3 separate regions of the Homo sapiens genome follow, and regions 1 and 2 are each linked to region 3. The links are contacts of gene promoters, found by promoter capture Hi-C in human tissues and cell types (Jung and others, 2019). All regions are on one chromosome and are shown on one strand. The core of a region is centred on a gene start or on the middle of the fragment in contact, and the rest is flanking DNA. Distances in the headings are between cores, read along the strand shown.

Evidence for each region. The method cuts DNA at HindIII sites, captures the fragments that hold promoters and counts their contacts. A contact is called where the count stands out against the background at its distance.
Region 1: a contact is called between a fragment that was not itself captured here and the fragment with the promoter of DDI2 in region 3, in 2 of the 25 tissues and cell types used here (aorta and dorsolateral prefrontal cortex).
Region 2: a contact is called between a fragment that was not itself captured here and the fragment with the promoter of DDI2 in region 3, in 1 of the 25 tissues and cell types used here (dorsolateral prefrontal cortex).

Annotation. Positions count from the first base shown.
Region 1 is chr1:15,896,710-15,899,409 of GRCh38, forward strand. The region is part of intron 3 of SPEN (spen family transcriptional repressor); the gene reads left to right. Among named protein-coding and RNA genes, the nearest start is that of SPEN-AS1, 50 kb to the left of the region's middle. The HindIII fragment of the contact is 7,337 bases long and covers 1-2,700 here.
Region 2 is chr1:15,940,098-15,942,866 of GRCh38, forward strand. SPEN (spen family transcriptional repressor) reads left to right here. Exons shown (of 15, transcript NM_015001.3): 15 at 1-359. ZBTB17 (zinc finger and BTB domain containing 17) reads right to left here. Exons shown (of 16, transcript NM_003443.3): 14 at 2,432-2,641; 15 at 2,234-2,323; 16 at 1,772-2,155. The coding sequence ends at 1,872. Among named protein-coding and RNA genes, the nearest start is that of ZBTB17, 35 kb to the right of the region's middle. RefSeq lists an enhancer at 2,027-2,769. The HindIII fragment of the contact is 9,342 bases long and covers 1-2,769 here.
Region 3 is chr1:15,615,816-15,618,794 of GRCh38, forward strand. It overlaps DDI2 (DDI proteasomal shuttling factor 2), which reads left to right and starts at 1,643. Exons shown (of 10, transcript NM_032341.5): 1 at 1,643-1,993. The coding sequence starts at 1,856. RefSeq lists a silencer at 1,397-1,966. The HindIII fragment of the contact is 8,472 bases long and covers 1-2,979 here.

The DNA.
Region 1 (2,700 bases), core at 108-2,607, 280 kb after region 3:
AAGTGTTATTAGTTGTTTATATCAGCAATAAAGGGTCATTGTAATCAGAGGAAAAATTACTAGCTTGGGCAACATAGTGAGATCCTGTCTCTACAAGTAATTTTAAGTGTTAGCCTGGTGTGGTGGCGCATGCCTGTTGTCCTAGCTACTTAGGAGGCTGAGGTGGGAGGATTGCTTGAGCCCAGGAGGTTGAGGCTGCAGTGAGCCATGAGTGCACCTCTGCACTCCAGCCTGGATGACAGAGCGAGACCTTGTCGTGAAAGAAAAGAAACATTAGTGTTGGTGGTTGGTTATGGTTCTCTTTCCACCTCCAGCTTTGTCTAGTAAGAGAAAGCTTTCTTCCTTTGTCAGTTTCACTCTACTAATTCAGTTAATCATTATCATATCAGCTCTTTTCCCGTTAGAAATCTTTGTAGTTTCTGATGACCGGAGAAATCTGATAGACCAAACAAAGTTGAAATTAAAATATTGGTTACATAATAAAAACTTTGTTTTTTGGAGATGGAGTCTCGCTTTGTCGCCCAGGCTGGAGTGCAGTGGTTCAATCTCGGCTCACTGCAACCTCCACTTCTGGGTTCAAGCGATTCTCCTGTCTCAGCCACCCGAGTAGCTGGGACTACAGGCGTACGCCATCATGCCTGGCTAATTTTTCTTTCTTTTTTTTTTTTTTGAGACGGAGTTTCGCTCTTGTTGCCCAGGGTGGAGTGCAGTGGCGTAGTCTCGGCTAACCGCAACCTCCGCCTTCTGGGTTCAAGCGATTCTCCTGCTTGTAATCCTGAGTAGCTGGGATTATAGGCACCAGCCACCACACCCAGCTAATATTGTATTTTTAGTAGAGGCGGAGTTTCTCCAAGTTGGTCAGGCTGGTCTTCAAACTTCCAACCTCAGGTGATCCCCCCGCCTCGGCCTCTCAAAGTGCTGGGATTACAGGCGTGGGCCACCACGCCTGGCCTAATTTTTGTATTTTTTAGTAGAGATGGAGTTTCACCATATTGGTCAGGATGGTCTCAAACTCCTGACCTTAGGTGATCCACCTGCCTCGGCCTCCCAAAGTGCTGGGATTACAGGCTTGAGCCACTGCACCTGGCCGCATTTTTGCTTTTTAATGTATCAACACAGCATTTTCTTAATACTATCCTAAATTTAAAGAGTTTAGATCGCTTTTCAATAACTTTGGCTCTAAAGGGCTTCATTGATGATTTATACAGTTGAGTCCTGCAATGCTTTCCCCGTTTCTTTTGTAATAGTTGCACAGTCACCAGTTAGGTCTGACTCATTGCCCTGATGTCATCTCTGAGGAAGTTTACCTGGGAAAGACAGGCTGTGAGACCCCTTGATTGAGCAGAGCATTGTGGGCAAAAAGCAGCAGGTAGCTTACTTTGACTGGTTTGGAATCGCTTATCTTTTTCTAAGGAACAAAGGAGAGTGACCACTAACTTTGTATTTTACTTCTTAATTTATCTTTGTGTGTGTGTGTGTGTGTGTGTGTGTGTGTGTGTGTAAAATAAAATTTACCATTTTAACGACTTTTAAGTGTTCAGTTCAGTGGCACTTAAATACATTGACATTATTTTGCAACCATCACCACCATCTATCTCCAGAACTTTTTCATCTTCCTCAACTGAAACTCTATACCCATTAAATAATAACTCCCAATTCTCCCTTTCCCCCAGCCCCTGGCAACCACCATTCTACTTTCTGCCTTTATGAAGTTGACTACTCCAGGTACCTCCTATAAATGGAATCATACAATCTTTTTTGGGTATGGCTGGTTTATTTCATTTAGCATAATATCTTCAAGGTTCATTCATGATGTAGCATTTGTCAAAATTTTTTTTTTCTTTTTTTCTTTTTTTTTTTTTTTGTTTGAGACAGAGTCTCACTCTGTTGCCCAGGCTAGAGTGCAGTGTCTCAGTCTTGGCTCACTGCAACCTCCACCTCCCAGGCTCAAGCGATTCTCCTGCCTCAGCCTCCCGAGTAGCTGGGATTACAGGCATGTGCAACTACCGCCTGGCTAATTTTTTTGTGTTTTTAGTAGAGATGGGGTTTCACCATGTTGGCCACGCTGGTCTTGAATTCCTGATCTCAGGTGATCCGTCCACCTTGGCTTCCCAAAGTGCTGGGGTTACAGGCGTGAGCCACTGCACCCAGCCAAAATTTCCTTTCTTTAAAAGGCTGAATAATATTCTATTTTGTGTGTATACCATATTTTGTTGACTCACTCATCTGTCGATAGACACTTGGGTTGCTTCCACCTTTTGGGTGTTGAACATGCTATGAATGTGAGTGTACAAATATCTAGTTGAGTTCCCGTCTTCATTTCTCTTGGGTATATAACCATAGTGGAATCGCTGGTTCAGTGGTAAGTTAGCGTTTGGGGAACCCCATGGCTGTACCATTTTACTTTCCCGTCAGTAATGCACAAGGGTTCCAATTTCTTCACATCCTTGCATTTGTTATTTTGTTTGCTTGTTTTTTTGAGACAGGATCTCACTTTGTCATCTAGGCTGCAGTGTAGTGGTGCGATTTTGGCCCACTGCAACCTTGACTTCCCAGGTTCAAGCCATCTTCCTGACTCAGCACCCCCGCCAAGTAGCTGGGACTACAGGCACATACCACCATGCCTGGCTAATCGTTTTTGGTAATTTTTTGTAGAGACGGGGTTTCGCCATGTTGGCCAGGCTGGTCTTGAACTCCTGA
Region 2 (2,769 bases), core at 165-2,664, 320 kb after region 3:
AATATATAATATATATAAATATATATAATACTGACTTAAAAAATCAAATCCCCCGACATACGTTTTTTTTAATCTGTGCCAAAAATGTGTTTTCAGAGGAAATCTTATTTTCATATTCAGACTTTGTATTGCCCACTCATTTGTATAAGTGCGCTTCGGTACAGCACGGGTCCTGCTCCCGCGATGTGGAAGTGTCACACGGCACCTGTACAAAAAGACTGGCTAACCCCTCTTCCTATTACCTTGATCTCTTCCCCCAACTTCCTAACACTTATTAATTTATGAAACTGTTTTTCTCAGCGCAGTTTTGTTTTGTGTGTCCATTGGATTACAAACTTTATTAAAAAATATAAAACACACCAAGTGTGAGTGTGATTGTCACTTGGGTGGGAGGACGAACCATGGGTCCTTGGCTTATGGGAACAGTCAGCCCTCATCCCGCTTTTGATCCCCATGCCAAGTCTGTACATGGGAACTGTTTCCCTTCTGCCTCCTAGTCAGTCAGTCCTCCTCCCCAAGGATAATTTTATCTTGTACAAAGGAGATTTTTGTCACGGACACTGAACTTAACCATTTCTCACTCTTGTGGTGTCTTCAGAGTCCTAACTGGTTCTTAGGTAATGTGGAAGGAAGGCACTTCCAATTTTGATACAGAATATAACCACACCCCATGCCATCTCAGAAACATTTTAGCAAGCTTTGGTTTCTTGTCTCTCTCTTGCCCCCTCTTCCCTTCTCCCAGTGTGAAGCAGGCTGACTCCTGCAGAGGCAGTGGCCTCCTGGGGCCCCTGGGGGCTCATTTGATCCCGTCTCTGCCTCCAGACAGGAGAATGGGAGTTGGGGACAGGCTTCCCCTGCAGCTGGATTCTCTAGAAGCTGTGGAGTTGGGACAGGGACATGGGGACTATAAAGTTGGTGGTCTCACTTGGAATACCAATGGGCTCCTACAAATGGGCCTGTCCTGGTGTGAGAAGATAGCATCCCCCTCTGAACGGTGGGCCATAGATGCCGGGGCCACTGTGGGGGGACGAGATGGTACCTCCTGACTCCTTGCTGACAGGAGTGAGAAAGCTGTTCCACCAGCTCCCTACCTCCCCATCAAAGCCCCTGGCTGCTCCTTCCTGTCCCTCTGGGCCCCCAGCCTGGTGGCAGAGATGCCATCTTTTGAACCTTCCCAAAAGATGATGGCACCGGCTTGGCCTTAGTCCTCGGGCCAGGTAACCCTGAAGCAAGTGTGGCTTCCATCTGCTCCCTTAGGCCCATCAGAGCCAGGGCAGTGGCCTGGGCCTGGCACTCTCCTTGGCCTACCTTGCCACTCTGGCTGGAAGGACCCCTGAGCCAGGCCTGGCAGCAGTGGCCTGTGAGCCAGGCTCGCTCTGGGTTGCCTGTACCCTGGTAAGCAGTTGGTGGCCGCCCCTGCTGGTCCCTTCCCCAACTTCCCAACCTCTCCCCAACCTGGGCCGAGGGGGAGCAGGGTCATAGCTGTGGGGCGAGGGGAGGCCAGGCCCTAAAGATGAACAGGTGAGAAGCCTCCAAACAAGATGGGATGAGGGCATGGGGCACGTGGTGCCGAGGTCTCTCCAGCCTGAGTGTACTGCCCACTCCTCAACTTGGGGCAAAGCAGCCAGCCTGGCTCTGATTCTAGTCGCATTCAGCAAGAGGGACGGGCTGACCTTCCCAGGAAGGCTGGTTCCTGGGTGGTACAGCCTTTCTGTGGCATCAGTTGTAGCTGCCAGCTCCCCACCCACCCCACAGGGACCTATAGGCAGCATTAGAAAATAATCCAATTTATTCTCTCTAGGGAACAGGCCACCCTTCCCGGTTCCAGGGTGCCATCCATCCTTAAATAAACAGTCAGAAGGGCCGCCAGCTCACTCGGCAGGCGGGGGACATTCAGGAGCTGTAGGGGAGGTCTCTGCCAGTGCGGGCTGGCCCTCAGCCCCGTCGCGAGGGCGGAAGACCAGCTCCCCAGCCTGCAGCACCTGCCCGGCAGGCCACGTGCCACCTGGCCCATACTGCTGATAGAAGTCCGCGTCTGTCTGGAACATGACCAGTGCCTGGGCTGTGTGGATTCGCACATGCTGAGCCAGGCTGTTGGCATCCAGAAACTTGTCCCCACAGGAGTCACAGGCGTAGAGGATGTGAGTGTTGGGGTCTGTGGAGGTGGGGCAGCAGTCAGAGTGGGAAGGACCCCGGGCTCTGCCCACATTCACACCCGGGTGGCCCCCCTCACCTTCTTCCTGCACTTGCTTCACAGCTTTGCTGATCTCGGCCTTCAGGACTTCCGTCTCATCGGCTGTCACTGCAGCTCCCACCGGCACCACTGCGGGCAGAGTCGCAGGGCCTAAGGTGAAGGCACGGGCACTGCCCCATCATCGCCACCCTGGCAGCAAGCTGCCTGTGACTTCCCTCTGCTGCCCACAGCCCGCACCTGTGAGCTGAGTGACGGCTGTCGCTGCCAGTGCCTCGGTAGCCAGCGTGACCATGTCATCCACAGTGACCACGCTGACCTCACTGCCCTCCTCGGGCTCCAGGATCTTGATGCCTGCCTTGCCCTGGTGCACGGTCTTCACGTGGGAGCGCAGGTTGTCTACCCGGTTGAAGCCACGCCCACACTTATCACACAGGTAAGGCTTCTCTCCTGGGGGAGCAAGGTTCTCTCTTGCCTTTGTGGGAAGGGGCCGCAGGGATGGGGTGGGAGGCCCTCAATGACTCGTTTGCCCAGCAACCCTGTCTTTTACAGCAGGAGGTGCTCTGGGGTGGCTGCAC
Region 3 (2,979 bases), core at 393-2,892:
AAATGTGCACAGGGACTTCTGGGCAAGCTTTTTCCTTGAATAGGAAAATGATGCGTGCAGTGGAGGCAGCCAGCCATATATTGCAACCCTCAGGAAAAGGTCAAGACAATTACAAAAGTATTGGCCCTGATTTCAGTGAGCCACTCAACCAGTGCTGTTGCTACCTCCAGGCCTTCTCTCCTGTGAGAAAACAAACCCTTGTTTGTTTAAGCCACTGATAGTCAAGCTTTCTGTTGCTCCTAGGGGATATAAGCATTCTCACTCCCCTGTGCCTCTACTTTCTCTTTTTTTTTTTTTTTTTTGAGACAGAGTCTCGCTCTGTCTCCCAGGCTAGAGTGCAGTGACCTGATCTCGGCTCACTACAACCTCCGCCTCCCGCGTTCAAGTGACCCTCCTGCCTCAGCCTCCCGAGTAGCTGGGACTATAGGTGTCCGCCACCATGCCCGGCTAATTTTTGTATTTTTAGTAGAGACGGGGTTTCACCATATTGGCCAAGCTGGTCTCGAACTCCTGACCTTGTGATCCGCCCGCCTTGGCCTCCCAAAGTGCTGGGATTACAGGCGTGAGCCACCGCGCCCAGCTCCTCTAATTTCTCTTTGTAAAAGCCTTCAGCTGCTAATTCTCCCTTTCCTGCCACCAACAGCCTACTTACTACCTACTTACCTGCACCCACAGCCATCTTATTTGCTCCTTCTCTCCTGTTAAAATGGAAAAGGGCTCCCTACCATGGAGGGGGAGTGGGAGTAAATGGAAAGATGCTAATCTGGCATCCATTACAAGTTCATCTTTCAGTTTTGGTTTTCTTACTCATCCGCACCTTAGTTCTGGGCCTCTACCACTCATCAGCTGTGTGCCTTAAAAACAGGCCATTAAAGTAGCAAATATTTATTGAGTAGATTCTAAGCTGTGCCCAAAAAGGCACTGCGCTAGGTGGTAGGAGTTGCTAGGGCTAGGAAACAGACACAGTCCAAGTAGAGAGAAAATTATTTACAAGACAGGGGAATGGAGCCTTGGAGGAACTGACCTATGTGGCTGGGAGGGCAGAGAATGTGGGAAGAGCTCGGAAGAAGGGGCTGGGGAGGTAGGCGTGGGCCACAGCCAACTGGCTTCTGTAGACTAGGGAGGGTAATGATTTTGGTTTCAATCCTAAATCACTAAGACAGGAAGTGAATTACTCTGTCGGAGCCTCAATTTCTACCTCGAAAAATATGTTTTATTACTAACTCCTGTACTAGATTGAGAGTTACGGAGAAGGATTTATCCTTTTATTCATTTCTGCATCGCCAGCGCCCGACACATGGTAGGCGCTTAATCAATGCCTGTTCGGTGAATAAATAAGACCGGGGACTCCTCCACAGACTTCTGTCATTAAGTCAACCAGTCAGCAGAGATTTCCTTCTCCGCGTTCCTTTCCTTCCCTCCCCTTTTCTTGCCCTTCCTCCCTCTCCTCTTCCACGCCCCCTTCCCACTCCTCCCCCTCCTATCCTCTCCTGGCTTCCTCCTCCTCTTCCCGGCCCCGCCCCCCGCTGCGTTGCGAAGGCGGGGAAGGCGAGGCGGGCTTTACGGCAGCCGCGTTGCGGCGGGGCGGGGCGCCGGGCGGCCGGCGCGCTTGGCGGCAGCCGTGGGAGGCAGGCCGGCAGGCAGACGGACTCGCAGGCGTGTGGCGGCGGCCGTGCTTGCTAGTGAGGGCGGGAGGGAGTGACTCACTGAGCGTGTGTGAGGGAGGGAGCGAGCGAGCGAACGAGCAGCCGGCGCCGTCCTCCCGCAGCACCAGCCAGGCCACGCCGCCGCCTCTTCCCCTGCGCCCCGCGCCCAGGCCGGGCCGAGCCGAGCCGAGCCGGGTCGGGCCCGGGCCATGCTGCTCACCGTGTACTGTGTGCGGAGGGACCTCTCCGAGGTGACCTTTTCCCTCCAGGTCGACGCCGACTTCGAGCTGCACAACTTCCGCGCGCTGTGCGAGCTCGAGTCTGGCATCCCCGCAGCCGAGAGCCAGGTACGCCGGGCAGCGAGCCGGGCCTGCCCCGGAGCTAAGCCCTCCCCGCCTCGGGGCCTCACTCCCTCCCTTTGCTACTGGTGAAGAATTGGGGGCTGGGGGGAGCAAGGATAGCCATTCTCAGGTCACCCCCGCATCCGGAAAGGAGCTGGGGAGCTGGCATCAGTAGCTGCCCTCACACACTCCGAGCATGGGGTGGGGTACGAGGAGAGGGAGCGGAGAACCTGACCGCAGACGCACCCACTGCAGCGTGAGGGGCGCGTGGACTGTTGAGCAGCGCTAACCCTCCCCACCTTTGGCTCTTTGGCCCTTCCCTGTTTCTAATCCCGAGTGTAGGATATCGTTGTGGACCTCAGAAGCAGCCCTGGGTTTGCTAGGATTCATACATCCTGCAAACCAGAAATACCAGTTTGGATCACTGTGGTAGATAGATGTTCCTCTGCTTTTTTTTTTTTTTTTTTCTGGAGAGGGTTTCTGCTTAAATATACGCAGTTTACCTTTAAATGCACAGATTTGCACTTCCGGTGAAAGAAAAAGTTTAAGACTTGCACTACCTCATTTTGGGGTCTTTGGAAATGCTCTTTACCCACCACATGCGTTTCTGGTTAAATTCTTTTGAAAAACAGTACCTATTGGTTCAACTCAAGCTGTTTGTTTGTTTCGGTTCTACCCTGGTAGTAAGCCAGAAGGCCCTTTTTCTTTCAGGTCACAGTTCAGAGTTTGGGTCAGTTCAAAGCTCAATGCTTTAAAAGGATATTTGCTTGGAAACGGCCTAGTATCAGTGCTGTTTGGTGGTTTCATTTCCCTACTCAGCTTGCTGGAAAGAAGTTCAGCCTCTCATATTTTAACTAAGCAAAGTAATTCTCAAAATGCTTTGGGGCTGCCCCTAGTCTTTATCAAACAGAATCGGTGACACTAACGCTGTAAACTTTACACTAAAACACTTAGATCATGACTTAATAAATTTAGCCTGGAGGAAATAGTCT